5 separate regions of the Homo sapiens genome follow, and all the other regions are linked to region 1. The links are contacts of gene promoters, found by promoter capture Hi-C in blood cells and fetal thymus (Javierre and others, 2016). All regions are on one chromosome and are shown on one strand. The core of a region is centred on a gene start or on the middle of the fragment in contact, and the rest is flanking DNA. Distances in the headings are between cores, read along the strand shown. Region 1 holds the start of FOXD2-AS1 (FOXD2 adjacent opposite strand RNA 1). Region 2 overlaps STIL (STIL centriolar assembly protein). Region 3 has its middle 3.0 kb from the start of PDZK1IP1. Region 4 has its middle 3.2 kb from the start of LINC01738. Region 5 has its middle 34 kb from the start of LINC01738.

Region 1 (2,700 bases), core at 184-2,683:
ACTCATGTCCTTTGAGAGGAAGTCGCCTGGGCCCCCTCTGGGACCTCTGACCAAGGGGATCCATTTAATGTGCTGTTCCAGCATAAACTGTCATTGGAAAAAAGAGAAATCTCGTCCTCAAACCATGGACAGCAAATTGGACAGGGACTAGTAGCCCTGGAATTGGAATTTCCTGGGTGACAGACTGTCCGGGGAAAAAGGTCTTGGAGAGAAGCTTCTTGCATGAGTCCAAGGAAACTCACATACCTAGGGTTGCTAGATTTAGCAGATTTATTTTATCTGGCAACCCTACACATACCTCAAGCTTGCTCTTGACTACATGGATATCTGTCTCACACTCCCAGAACCCCACTCACAGATACCCCACACCATGGACCACACACCAACTCCAACCCAGCTCAACTCTGCTAGTATCTAAACAAGTGGAGAGAAAAACAGTGTTGGCGTCATCCTACTCCATTTCACCTTCTGAATGTCCTCATTTCTTTTTTTTCTTTTCTTTTTTTTTTTTTTTTTTTTTTTTGACTGAGTTTCGCTCTTGTTGCCCCCCTGCTGGAGTAAAATGGCCTGATCTCAGCAGCTCACCACAACCTCAGCCTCCCAGGTTCAAATGATTCTCCTGCCTCAGCCTCCCAAATAGCTGGGATTACAGGCAGGCACCAACATGCCCGGCTAATTTTGTGTTTTTAGTAGAGAGGAGGTTTCTCCATGTTGGTCAGGCTGGTCTCAAACTCCCTACCTCAGGTGATCCACCCGCCTCGGCCTCCCAAAGTGCTGGGACTACAGGCGTGAGCCACCCTGCCCGGCCTGAATGTCCTCGTTTCTAAAACAGCAAATGGGAACCAGTAGCTTCCTTCCTTGCCAGCACTCCCCTGGCTCCCCAGGCTTTGGTCAGGGTGAGACTAGCCAGGGCACTTGCTGCCCAAATTTCCTGCTTCAGAGAAGTTCTACCAAGCAGCTACAGCAGCCAGCCCTTGCCTCTGCCTGGCCTTGCTGCACGTTCACTGCTACTGAGACCTACACTGGGGAAGGGGAGTACAGAATCCCCAGCTTCTGCTCTGCAGGGTTGGGGAGGGAGAATCCAGACCCTTCACATACATACTTTTTACAGGAGCGGAAACTGAGGTCCAGGAGATCATGTTACTTGTCAGGCTTTTGAGGGGCGCTAAGCTGGGTTGGACCTACGTGTCCGGGTTCCTAGCCCAGAACCCCTCTGTTTATCCAAATAGCTGTTTCTCTAACCGAGCTCCTCTCTGTATAGAGGGATTTCTAGTAGCCTCTCCTCCCTTCCAAGGTTCTGGGCCAGTTTGTTTTCAACAGTGTCAGGAGTAAGTGCACTGGGGACTGGGAGAAGGGCCACCGCGGGATTCGGAATTTATTTCGTTTTCTTTGCTTCTTCTGTGACCCTTACTTCTTTCGCCTACCGGCTCAGCCTGTTCGGCGTCTTGCAGCAGTGCCTGCGATCCCGCGTGAGTCCGTCGCTCCCTCCGCGAAAACCTGGACTCTTTCCCAGAAGCCTTGGGCTCCAGCACCATGCCTGCTGCAGCCGCCAAAGAGCGGGAAGCCACAGGCTCTGCGGGTCTTGGTTACAGCGTCTCTGGTCGTGCCGGGCCTCCTTCTGCATCTGTTCCACGGCCCGGCCATCTCCCTCGTGCAGCCCAGAACAATTGGGAGGAAGCGTTGGCGGGCGGAGGGGGATGCCTGTTGGGCTTTTCCACTAGTTACTGAGTGTTTTTTGCGAAGAGTACGTTGCTATCAGTGGCGTCCGGGTCGTCTCTCCCTCTCTTCCTTTTGGTCCCCATAAATGAGCTGTTCTCGGCTCTGGGAAAGAAAAGCCCTCCAGCGATTATGCGGATCTAATTAAGTCAATCAGGAAACTGCCGGAGAGCGGCACTGGCTTGAAGCGGAGTTTGTCCTGAGGCACAGCGGAACGATTGCACGCGGCCCTTTTCAGCGGTTCGAGCTCGGCCAGCGCCGGGCTGCAAACGGAAGCCTGAGCTGGGCTTGGGGAACTACGCCCGCAGATTTCTCTAATTTTATTCACAAAACTGGACACCCTCAGGGAAAGCGGCAAAGCCGGCGCGAGCCTCCTTCCCACTCTGGACCTAGCTGCAGCTCCAAAGCGAGATAGCTGTCTAGCCTCAGCCGGTACAGCTCCCGGCCCCTTTCTCCACCCGGATCTTCGGCTGCTCAGAAGCGATCAGCTCCCTTAGCCCAGGTGGGAGGCGGGAGACTCCAGATCCTGTGACCCGCGGAGGCAGACCTCAGACATGTTCCCCATGCACAGAAATGACTGGGGCTCCAGTGTGTGCACCTTCAACTCTGAAGCCCACCTGCCCACTTCAGGCGCTGGCGCGGAGATAACCACCACGCGTCTGCCGGGCAAAGTTCGAGAGTGAATTTACATCTTCTCTTTCCGCTACTCCTGGCCACTGTCCCCTCCCAGCCCCATCTCCCCCGCCCCCAACCCTGGACTATGTGGTAGGGGACTCGCTTAAGCACCCAAGTACTGCGCGGTTGTTGAGACCAAGGCGAGCTGCGGAGCCTGTGGGCTGTTGTTCGTGGGAAGAGGGTTGCGACCTCAGGAGAGACCGAAAACAGCGCCACTTGAAACCCGCCGGTCCTGAAGATCACAGAGTTCCCGGAGTGGTAGGGAAGGCTCCACGCTCTTGAGAGCAGAGGCGGCCAGGGGCAGTGGGG
Region 2 (2,700 bases), core at 1-2,500, 180 kb after region 1:
TGTCTGTCACTCGATCGAACCAAAATAATTGTGACCCATTCAGCCTTCTCCATATTAATACAGACAGAAGCACAGTGGGGCTTAGTTTAATTTCACCAAACAACATGTCATTTGCAACCAAAAAATATATGAAGAGATATGGACTCCTACAAAGCAGTGACAATAGTGAAGATGAAGAGGAACCTCCCGACAATGCAGATAGCAAGAGTGAATATTTATTGAATCAGAACCTTAGGTCCATACCTGAACAGCTTGGTGGTCAGAAAGAGCCTTCTAAGAATGACCATGAAATAATTAATTGTTCTAACTGTGAATCTGTGGGGACCAACGCAGATACGCCAGTATTGAGAAATATTACAAATGAAGTTTTGCAGACAAAAGCAAAACAGCAGTTGACTGAAAAGCCAGCTTTCTTAGTAAAGAACCTTAAACCAAGTCCTGCAGTGAACCTTCGAACCGGGAAAGCAGAGTTCACTCAACATCCTGAGAAAGAAAATGAAGGGGACATTACAATTTTTCCTGAAAGTTTGCAACCTTCTGAAACGCTAAAGCAGATGAATAGCATGAATTCAGTAGGCACCTTCTTAGATGTAAAACGTCTCAGACAGTTACCAAAATTATTTTAACCTTTTAACTCCCTGCCCTTTTAATACAGGGACAGGGTGTCTCCTGAAGATACTTAGGGAAAACAGGAGCCTACCACAAGGCTCCTGATCATTCTGGAGTCACTGTTTCTTGGTAGCAGCCAATTGGGAAGAGTGACTTCTGTGAGATGGCTGGCTGGTGATAGGACTAAGTTCTCATTGTTCAAATAGAGCTGTTCAACATCACTGAAACCTTTAAGAAAAGCCCTGAGATCAGTTATTCCTACAAGTTTAAGTAGTAGACAGATACTATCCAGCTCTAAGTCTCAACTGCTCTTTTATACTGTACTTTTTTTTTTGAGACGGAGTTTTGCTCTTGTAGCCCAGGCTGGAGTGCAATGGCAGGATCTCAGATCACTGCAACCTCTGCCTCCTGGGTTCAAGCGATTTTCCTGCTTCATCTTCCCAGGTAGCTGGGATTACAGGCATGTGCCACAACGCCTGGCTAATTTTGTATTTTTAGTAGAGACTGGTTTCTCCATGTTGGTCAGGCTGGTCTCAAACTCCCGACCTCAGGTGATCCGCCCGCCTCGGCCTCCTAAAGTGCTGGGATTACAGGCGTGAGCCACTGCGCCCAGCTATACTGTATATTTTAAGAAGTTCCAGCATGTTGCATCTCTGCATTTATCCTATATCATTAAAAGAACATAAGTTATCATGGTGTTGGGTAAATTAGCGAAATCAACCCTTCCTAAGTTTAAGGGAAAAGTTATTTTTAAAAACAACTTAATAAAAACTTACACTCTTTTATACAAGAGTGTATTTCCCCTTAATTAGGATGCATGTTGATTAAACTCGAGATACAGCTTTTTGCAGTATGGTGGGTTGGTTTTGGTGTAACATCTTCAACATGTCACACTGGCTATCAAAGAATAAGAAAATTATTGAGTATGAGTGTGTTTTATAAACTTTCTGAGTTTTTCAGATGTCTTAATATTTTTTAATAGAACTTAATAAAATGTCTAGATTGACTATTTTCCTTTGTTGTCTGTTATAGTTTATTCTCCACTTTTTAAAAAACTCTTAGACTGCCCCCAAATTACAAAAATAATACAGAGAGTTCCCGTATACCCTTCTTCCAGTGTCCTCCAGTGATAATATCTTACATAAGCATAGTAAATGAGCAAAACCAAGCAATTGACATTGGCTATAATGCTAATAACTGAACCACAGACCTATCAGGTTTCACAAGTGTTTACATGCACTCATTTATTTACTTTTTGGTATATAGCTTTATGAAATTTTATCTTTTTTTTCTTCTTCGAGATGGAGTCTTGCTCTGTTGCCCAGGATGGAGTACAGTGGCGTGATCTTGGCTCACAGCATCTTCTATCTCCTGGGTTCAAGTGATTCTTGTGCCTCAGCCTCCCGAGTAGCTTGGATTACAGGCATACACCACCACGCCTGGCTAATTTTTATAGTTTCAGTAGAGATGGGGTTTCACCTTGTTGGCCAGGCTGGTCTCAAACTCCTGATCTCAAGTAATCTGCCCACTCTGCCTCCCAAAGTTCTGGGATTACAGGCATGGGCCACCGCTCCCAGCCATGAAATTTTATCTTTTGAGACGGAGTCTTGCTCTGTTGCCCAGGCTGGAGTGCAGTGGTGCGACCTTGGCTCACTGCAACCTCTGCTTCCCGGATTCTAGTGATTCTCCTGCCTCAGCCTCCCAAGTAGCTGGAACTACAGGTGCATGCCACCACACCTGGCTAATTTTTGTATTTTTAGTAGAGACAGAGTTTCACCATGTTGGCCAGTCTGGCCTCAAACTCCTGACCTCGTGATCTGCCCACCTCGGCCTCCCGAAGTGCTGGTTATAGGCGTGAGCCACTGCCTGGCTGAAATTTTATCTTTTATAGAATCACATAACTACTACCATAGTCAGCATACAGAACTATTCCATCACCACAAACTCCCTAGTGCTACCCTTTTAAAACACACGGTCTCTCCAACCCTAACCCCCAGCAGCCAGTGATTTGTTCTCCACCACTAGAATTTTGGCCTTTTGAGAATCTTTTATATAAATGGAATCATATAGTGTGTACCTTTTTGAAATTTG
Region 3 (2,700 bases), core at 112-2,611, 240 kb after region 1:
TATTCATTGAACAACCTTTCTCTGAGCTTCTGCTCTTTGTTAGGCCAGTGGTAGGCACTGCATATACTGACATTTAATTTCATAAAATGTGTGTCGAGTGTGTACTCAGGCACTGTGCTCAGTACTGGCTGCTGAGGGAGAGATAGACATGATACCTTCCCTCCATGGAGACAGTTATTAAATGAGTAAACATACAAATCAGTGTGTAATTGCAACTTGTGATCATGGCTGTGAGGAGATGAGCAAAGGAGACTCATAGAAGGGAGTGACTTCAGATGGGAGAGAAGGGAAGTAAAGAAGTATTCTTGAAGAAAGGGATGTAAAGGAAGATCAGTTTGCTGGGCAAATAGGAGTGGAAGAGTGTTCCAGGCAGAGAAAAGAGCAAGTGGAGAGAAGTCTCTGATGTGGGAAAGAGCTTGGCTTTTGTTAGGAAGTGACAGGAGGCTCCGGGGCCAGACCAAGCTGGAGTGGTGGGTAAGGAAGATTGCCTGTGCCCTCAAACCCATGCAAAGAAGTTTGCATATTATTTTAAGGGCTGATGAATGCCATAAAAGGGTTTAAGCAAGATACGTTTGAAAGAATAAAACAAGGTCTCCAGGAGCTCTCTGGCTTACAGCAATGATATTAACAAGATGAAGTATTATAAGAATTAGTAAAGAGCTGGGCGCGGTGGCTCACGCCTGTTATCCCAGCACTTTGGGAGGCCGAGGCGGGCTGATCACTTCAGGTCAGGAGTTTGAGGCCACCCTGGCCAACATAGTGAAACCTCGTCTCTACTGAAAATACAAAAATTAGCTTGGTGTGGTGGTGGGCGCCTGTGATCCCAGCTACTCAGGAGGCTGAGGCAAGAGAATCGCTTGAACCCAGGAGGCGGAGGTTGCAGTGAGCCAAGATTGAACCACTGCACTCCAGCCTGGGTGACAGAGAGAGACACTGAGAGGGAAAAAAAGAAAGCTTTTATATTTGTGTTCTAAACACCCTTCTTGAATGTTCTCTGTACTTTTTCTCAGGCTAAGCTCTTTGCCTGGATTCCTCTCCCCAGACTGTCTGCCGAGTACAACACTCTGGCTAACTTTGCCTGCATTACCTCCTCCAGGATGCCTTCCTTAGCAATGTAGTCCACCACGCTGCCCTATGTCAGAGCCCTGAGCACTCCCTGTATGCTGTTCCCAGACTATTTACATGTCAATGTCCACCGTCCCTTTCTTCAGACCACCCCTGGAGGAGGGCAAAAGTGGGGGCTGGAGGGAGGGGAAGTTGCAGAATCTTCAGCAGCAAACTGGCTCCCTGCACGCCCAGTCTGGTATTGGAGCTAGACACTGCCACCTGCTGGCAGTGAGTGGAATGGCTGACAAGATGGGGTTGGGAGGAAGGAGACTGCTGGAAACAGTCCAGGCCCACTTTGGCTTTTCTGAAGGGCAATCGCATAAGGTCTGGCTGGATGGAGGGCTTGTCTAAGGGGCCTGATGGTTTTGCGTGACAGCTGGGCTGGAACAGGAAGGAGGAACTGAACGTCGATGGAACAGCTGCTCAGGACACACGGTGCAGCCCTGTGGGGCTGCTGAGACCTTAGTCCAGACCCTGGGCCCCAGCCAGACCAGTAGGGGGGCCCACCTTGTTACCATGGGGATCAGGGCTGTGTCCATACAGCTGGGGAGATGACCCTCCACCCGTGTGAAGACCTCCAGGGAGGAGGGACCAGCCTCAAAGCCAAGTGTCCACCCATGCTCCCTCTTTTCTGGAACAACTTGTTTTGCTCTAAAGCTTGGGACTTTGACCCAGGAGGTATGTTTTCCTCCTGTTGATCACCTGGTGTCCTTCCTGTTCATCCCCTTCCCCCACCACTCCCAAAGCATAGCCCAGGGGATCCTTTCCTTTCCCTGGGTTTTTCAGGGAAGTGGAGGATACTGGGGTGGGGAAGGCAGAACCTGGGACTTGAGTGCTGAGGGCACTGGTTGGAGGGGGTGGCACAGCTGTGACCCCCCCACCCTCCTTAAGTCTGTCCTTGCTTGGCTCCTGGGATACCCCACTTTCCTGGGGTTGCTTCCTCCTGTTTCCTCCTGCCCCTTCTTCCTTTGAAAGACCTTTGTGTGTTGGGGGCGTGTCTCCTTCTTTCTGTGCTCTCCCCTCAACACCCCTACCCCCGCTACACACACTGGGGAGACCATGAGCTCCCAGGCCTCAGTTACCATCCCTGTGCTGCAGACGGCTCCCAGATGTTCCACTCCAGATGCAGGGATTTTGCAGCCTTCCAGATGTCTCCCTCTGGAAAGTCCACAGGCACTGCAAGCATAATACCTCAAAATCTATAGCTCATTAATCCTCCAACCCCCCAAACTTGCTCTGGCCCCTACTGAGGCACTAGCATCTACCCAGCTGCCTACGCCAGAAACCTGGGAGTCACCTGAAGCCCTGCCTCCTGCCTGTACCCATTCTCCCAGCTTGGCACTGTGTTCCAGCAGCCACACCCCGGCTTCTCTACCTCCTCAACAGGGCTCAGATCTGTTCCCATGGGCACTTCCTGCCCAGGTCCAGGCACTGGTGTTGTGGCCACTGTAGCAGATCCCTGGATTTCTCTTCTCCAGCCTTTGCATGCCCCTTTCACTCTCCACACTGCATGGAGAGGTGTTTTCCCAAACGCAAAACTAACCATGTGACTCTCCTCCCTAAAATTCTTGGAGAAGGCACCAGTAGATGTTT
Region 4 (2,737 bases), core at 159-2,658, 250 kb before region 1:
ACCAGCCAGGCCTCTTGGACCAAACAGCTGAAGCCACCTAAAAAAAGCCCGGAGTTAGAATTGTATTTCCTCCCCAGGGTTAAAACTTCAGTTATGTGGGGGCAGAAAACAAAACAGTTGGATATAGTTAAGCAAGTACTTGAATTGAAAATGGCCAGTTATTTGAGAAACAACTTGTCCGCAATTCACCAAGAAACATTAATTTACCAGTCACTTTGCAAACATGAAGTTCCTTTGAAAACTACTGGTTTAAAACAATCTGATATCCCTCTCCTATTTTATGAAGATGGCTGGTTATTCTGCAAACTTCCACTTGGAGTTAGTCATGCTACTAGTTATTCTTTACAAACAACTTGGCACAAGCTTCAGCTCCTGGTTTGTCAGGTTAGAACTATGATTTGGTCCTTTTTCCCATTGCTGATCAAATTCAGATTTAGTTAACTTTTTCTAAAGCAAAGAGGAAGAAATATTTGGGGGCAATCAATAATGATCCTTCACTGATTTCCTGGAGCTATCCTAAAATCCTCAGATACTATTCAACCTAACAGCCTTATTTTACAAATGGGGAAACTGAGGCCTAGAATATGCTAGTCTTTGCTGATCCCTGCTGGTGACATCTGAGCCGGGTTTGAGTATTATTTGTGAGTACTTGGAACAGGTGATGCTAAGGAAACTTCAGGTGCTTTTTCTCTAAGCTCAGTCATGAGGTTTTTCACTTCTACCCAGGTCTGAGCCACACAAGTCTGAATTTGGAACATTTTAGATATTGTTGTAATAACCCTCTGGTAACACTGTGCATGTGTGTTTGTGTATGTGTGTGTTTGTCCACCAGGCATTTCAAAATCTCTGGCCCTTCTGAAAGACAGGCAAGTTTATTAATGCAGAGCTCTCCGAATTGTTTTATAATTGGAAACATTTTGCAATGAAAGAACATTAATAAAACCTGAATCCAAATCAAACTTCTCTGTGTATGTTATTTTTACTCCGCAGTCAAAAGCTTTTATTAGATTTAAAACTTTCACTGTGCTTATCTCTGGCTGTATAATGTTCTACAATAAGAAAAAAAGTCCAATGACTCTGAAGTCTGGCAAAATAATATACTTTCTTGGATGTCTCTGTGTGTTGCCAATTAGCTTTGCCGTGAACACAGGCCCCCATCCATCACCCGCCTCTGGGTGGCTGTAACAGAGACCTAATTTGTTTCACATGCCCTGCGCTCTCTGAGCCATTCACCAGCACCTCCAACCTGCTGAGGAGCAGCTTGGCTGGAGAAGAGATGAATGACAAGAAAAACCCAAGAGGAGACAGAGAGACCGCTTATCAGAAATGGGCCCTGCTCTGCTCACTCAGTGGGAAAATCCCAGCCCTTCATGCCTCTAATTCCTTCCACCCACCTCCCGCCCCACCCCTCTTTCTCTTTCTCCTTCTCTTCTTCTCCCCTTTCATGACCTAAAAGACCCAGGACTCACAGAAGGCGAGGCCTTGAGTGGAGAGTGGAAAACTTAGTCTTGTCTTCCAACTTCCAAGGGCTGGCTGCAGTCCTCTCCCTTCTCTGCCGGGTTCCCACTCCCTCCCACCTACTCCTTTTACAAGCCCAAGGTTTAAACCTCCAGTTCCCTAGGAATTTTATGAATGCTCAGCACAAGCCAAAATAAACTCGTAAAGAAAAAGTTTCTAAAGAAGGTCATAGACCCGTATAGCAAGTGCTAAGCGGTAAATACAAAAGTTCTTGGGGTCTTTGGGAGCTGTGGTCTGGGTGGTGGAAGGTTGGGGTCAATAGAGGGGAAAGGGAAGAACAAGGAGAAAAAGTGAAGCTTCCTTTTTCTCCTAGTTCTAGACCCTCAGAGTCTTTATTGTTATTATTTTGTAAAGCCTTATAGTTTGATGCCTCATTTTATTGATGCTGTAGCCCAGAGAGGTGGAGGGATTGATTCAGTGTCACACAGGAAGCTGGCCCGTGCGGTGCTCTGACACCCGTGTCTGCAGGCCTCACTCTCTGTGGTACTGACACGGTGAGGGGAGGAAAGGAAGGCGCCTTGGGATCACAGAGCTGCCTATTTTAACTCGTTAGAGCAGTGATGTCCAATAGAACTTTCTGCAATGGTAGAAATGTCTTCTGTCTGTGCTGCCCAATATAGTAGGCACTTGCCACATACAGCTATTAAATTAAGTAAAATGTAAAATTCAGTCCAACCAGCCACAATTCAAGGGCTACCATATTGAACAGCACAGATATAACACATTTCCATCTCTGTAGAGAGTTCTATTGGATAGTGCTGTTCTAAGGGCCACCATCACCAGCCCCAAGGACATGCTTGTGGTCATGGTGCAAGGTGGCCCCTTCCTCTAGGCTTTCACAGCCCTCAGTACTTTCACTACCCCCAATCATGACAGTTGCCACTCAATTATAAATGACAATGTCCTGTCTGTCTTGCCCACCTGAATGAGAGCACTTTGGGGGCTGGGGTCCTGTCTCTTTTCTCTTTTCACCTCCACGGCATCCAGCACAAGACAGATTCTCAATGATGATTTAGTCTCAGAATCTTAGAGTTGTAAAGGACCTTAAAGGGAGTCTAACAGAACTGCTCCCGGGGCAGGGACCTGCCCTGCAGCCTCTCAGAGGTAGCCCATCCACCCACTGTTTGCACACCTCTGGGGGCAGAGACCTCACTATCTCCCCAGGCAGCTGAGTCCATTTCTGAGCGGCTGGGATTATTAGAATAGACTTTCTCAAATC
Region 5 (2,700 bases), core at 1-2,500, 220 kb before region 1:
CTGACTTCATGTGGGGTTGATGAAGAAAAAGCTGTCCTTAAAGAGTCCTCTGGTTTTCCCCAGAGGCTGGTTATGGGCCATTTTTTGGACTCAAATAACAGCATATTTTAAAAGATAAGATTAATCTCAGTTATACATATATATAAAGCAAGATTTTTTAAATGAGCAAGACTGAAATAAATATGTGGAATAGGCACAAACTGATGTTTTCTCTAGTTTCGTCTGTGTTTCATGATTGCTTCCTAAGTCTCTGGTTTTCTCCCAGCCCTAAGCACCCTCACCCTGCTGCCTCAAGGCATTCGTTCACTAAGATTCTGCCTTGAAACACTGTCCTCCCACTCTCTCTCAATAGCTCCTTCCAGCATGCAGCAGCCTTCTTGTGCAATGAAAATGATGTTGATATAATGCTGGATTTTGCTAAACGTCTTTAGCCAAAGTTACTATCATCATAGATAATATGTTAGAAACCCAAACCTTCCAACCCAGTTCTCTCCGCACTCCATACATGAAGCTCTATTCATTACAATAACAATAGCAACAGCTACCACTTCTGTCTGTGCCTGCTCTGTAACAGGTGCTGCTCTGAGCACTTCACATCTACCAACTCATTTTATTCTCACAAAAATCCTCATGGGGTGGATGCCACCATAATTCTCACTGACAGATGGTAAACTGAGGCACAGCCTTTGGCTAATGAATGGCCAAACCAAGATTCAAACCCAGGATGTGTCTTTGGGGTTCAGGTTGTACACCCCCACTCTTGGCTGCTTGTCATTTGGGACCCAGTTCTTCCCTTCACACAACCCCATGGATAGGCTTCATTGGTGGGGTTAATCACTCATAAGACTTTGATGCAGAGAAAGAGGTTAATGGGCGGGCTTTCCATGCCTGCCATATTCCCCTGAATATATGCTTTAAAAGAAATGCCAGAGGAATTATTGGATGTGAGGTATTTTGTGGGAGCAGGTAAGTAGCCACTCTCTATGGCCTGTCCAGTTCCCTACACTCCATGGTGATCTGAAAGGACCAGCCACCAAAGCACGCTCTGCTTCCACAAGCCAATCTGAAAAATGGGCTTGCAAAGTGAAAATTAACATCTGTCCACAGACCCACAATAACAACATAAATTATAAAAGTCTCGGAGAGAAGCTTCAGAGACTTGCCTATTTAAGACAAGTAAGATCTTTCAAGAAAAGAGCCACAGGTCTTTCAGGGGCCACAGAGGGAACTTGTTTTTAACACAAGAGAGAAACATAATAACAGAGAAAGTGACAGATTGTCACGGGTCTCAGTGCTACTTCTGCCACTTCCTAGCTGTGTGGCCCAAAATAAAGTCTACTGTCCAAGCTTCAGCTGGTCCTCAGGTCAATGAGAATAGTCCTCACTTTGTGTCCATGATTTTGGTCCTTTTGTGCCTTGTCTCAACTTTTGCATGAGTTGAACCTCTACTTATTCCTCAAAGCCTCGTGGAAGTGCCATCCCAGAAGCCCCAGGTGGAATGAGCCCCCCTCCCACTGGGTGCATGGAACACTCACTTCTGTCTTTCACTGGGGCTTACATATCTTGCTATTGTATTTTATATAATTGTTTAATCATTTAGGAAAGTGTTCGTTTGTTCGATGTGATCTGAGCACCTGCTCCAAGCCAAGGGTTGTGCCAGATGTTGGGAATATAATCATGAATGAGAGATTGTGATGGGCTGAACTGTGTGCCTCAAAAAGACAAGTTGAAGTCCTAACCCCAAGTACCTCAAAATGTGACCTTGTTTAGAAATAGAGTCATTGCAGATATAATTAGTAACATTAAATGAGGCCATAGTGGAGTAGGGTGGTGTCAGTATAAGAAGAGATACAAACGCACAGAGGCAGAGGTGCTGCCAAAATCCAAGGAATGCCTGGGGCCACCAGAAGCTGAAAGAGGCTTCTCCCCGAGAAGCTTGAGAGGGAGCACGGCCCTGCCGACATGTTAATCTCAGACGTCTAGACTCCAGAACTGTGACAGAATAAATTTCTGTTGTTTTAAGCCACCCAATTTGTGGTATTTTGTTATGGCATTTCTAGGAAACAAATACAGAAATGTTCGCCACTTTCAAGGAGCAATACATTAAACCAATAATTACAAAATAGTACGGGATGTGCTCTGTACAATCACAGAGGACATAACAAGTAACTCAGCCTTGGAAGAGGATCCAAAAAGACCTCCAGAGGGCGGGGCGCAGTGGCTCACCTGGTAATCCCAGCACTGGGAGGCCAAGGTGGGCAGACCATGAGGTCAGAAGATCAAGACCAGCCTGGCCAACATAGTGAAATCCCATCTCTACTAAAAATACAAAAATTAGCTGGGCATAGTGTCACTTGCCTGTAATCCCAGCTACTCGGAGGCTGAGGCAGGAGAATCGCTTGAACCAGGGAGTTGGAGGTTGCAGTGAGCAGAGATTGGGCCACAGAACTCCAGCCTGGCGAAAGAGTGAGACTGTCTCAAAAAAAAAAAAAAAAAAAAAAAAAGCCTCCAGAGCAGGCGCACAGTTGAAGCCGGGTTTTGAAGGATGAGTAGGAGTTCCCTGGAGGAAGGTAGTGGGAGAAAGCACTGTAGGCAGAAGGAACAGCAGCACTCCCTGTGCATCCCGTTGGTCTCTCCTGCTGGACTGTGCTCCCTGGTTCCCTTAGTGCAAGTCTGTGTTGTGACAAATGCTCAGCACTA

The links. The method cuts DNA at HindIII sites, captures the fragments that hold promoters and counts their contacts. A CHiCAGO score of 5 or more calls a contact.
Region 2: a contact is called between a fragment that was not itself captured here and the fragment with the promoter of FOXD2-AS1 in region 1, in 2 of 17 cell types (total B cells and naive B cells). The highest score is 5.9, in total B cells.
Region 3: a contact is called between a fragment that was not itself captured here and the fragment with the promoter of FOXD2-AS1 in region 1, in 8 of 17 cell types (naive CD4 T cells, total CD8 T cells, naive B cells and 5 more). The highest score is 12.8, in naive CD4 T cells.
Region 4: a contact is called between a fragment that was not itself captured here and the fragment with the promoter of FOXD2-AS1 in region 1, in 13 of 17 cell types (total CD8 T cells, naive CD4 T cells, naive CD8 T cells and 10 more). The highest score is 9.6, in total CD8 T cells.
Region 5: a fragment that was not itself captured here is called in contact with the fragment with the promoter of FOXD2-AS1 in region 1 in 1 of 17 cell types (total CD8 T cells); the score reaches 6.1 in total CD8 T cells.

The regions. Positions count from the first base shown.
Region 1 is chr1:47,433,374-47,436,073 of GRCh38, reverse strand. FOXD2-AS1 (FOXD2 adjacent opposite strand RNA 1) reads left to right here and starts at 1,433. Exons shown (of 1, transcript NR_026878.1): 1 at 1,433-2,700. The region is part of intron 1 of LINC01389 (long intergenic non-protein coding RNA 1389); the gene reads left to right. RefSeq lists an enhancer at 1,433-1,948. The HindIII fragment of the contact is 12,098 bases long and covers 307-2,700 here.
Region 2 is chr1:47,249,062-47,251,761 of GRCh38, reverse strand. It overlaps STIL (STIL centriolar assembly protein), which reads left to right. Exons shown (of 17, transcript NM_001048166.1): 17 at 1-1,623. The coding sequence ends at 626. Among named protein-coding and RNA genes, the nearest start is that of TAL1, 18 kb to the right of the region's middle. The HindIII fragment of the contact is 4,333 bases long and covers 1-2,700 here.
Region 3 is chr1:47,191,700-47,194,399 of GRCh38, reverse strand. No RefSeq gene overlaps it. Among named protein-coding and RNA genes, the nearest start is that of PDZK1IP1, 3.0 kb to the right of the region's middle. RefSeq lists an enhancer at 2,010-2,700. The HindIII fragment of the contact is 810 bases long and covers 957-1,766 here.
Region 4 is chr1:47,683,947-47,686,683 of GRCh38, reverse strand. No RefSeq gene overlaps it. Among named protein-coding and RNA genes, the nearest start is that of LINC01738, 3.2 kb to the left of the region's middle. The HindIII fragment of the contact is 817 bases long and covers 1,000-1,816 here.
Region 5 is chr1:47,652,888-47,655,587 of GRCh38, reverse strand. No RefSeq gene overlaps it. Among named protein-coding and RNA genes, the nearest start is that of LINC01738, 34 kb to the left of the region's middle. The HindIII fragment of the contact is 198 bases long and covers 1,152-1,349 here.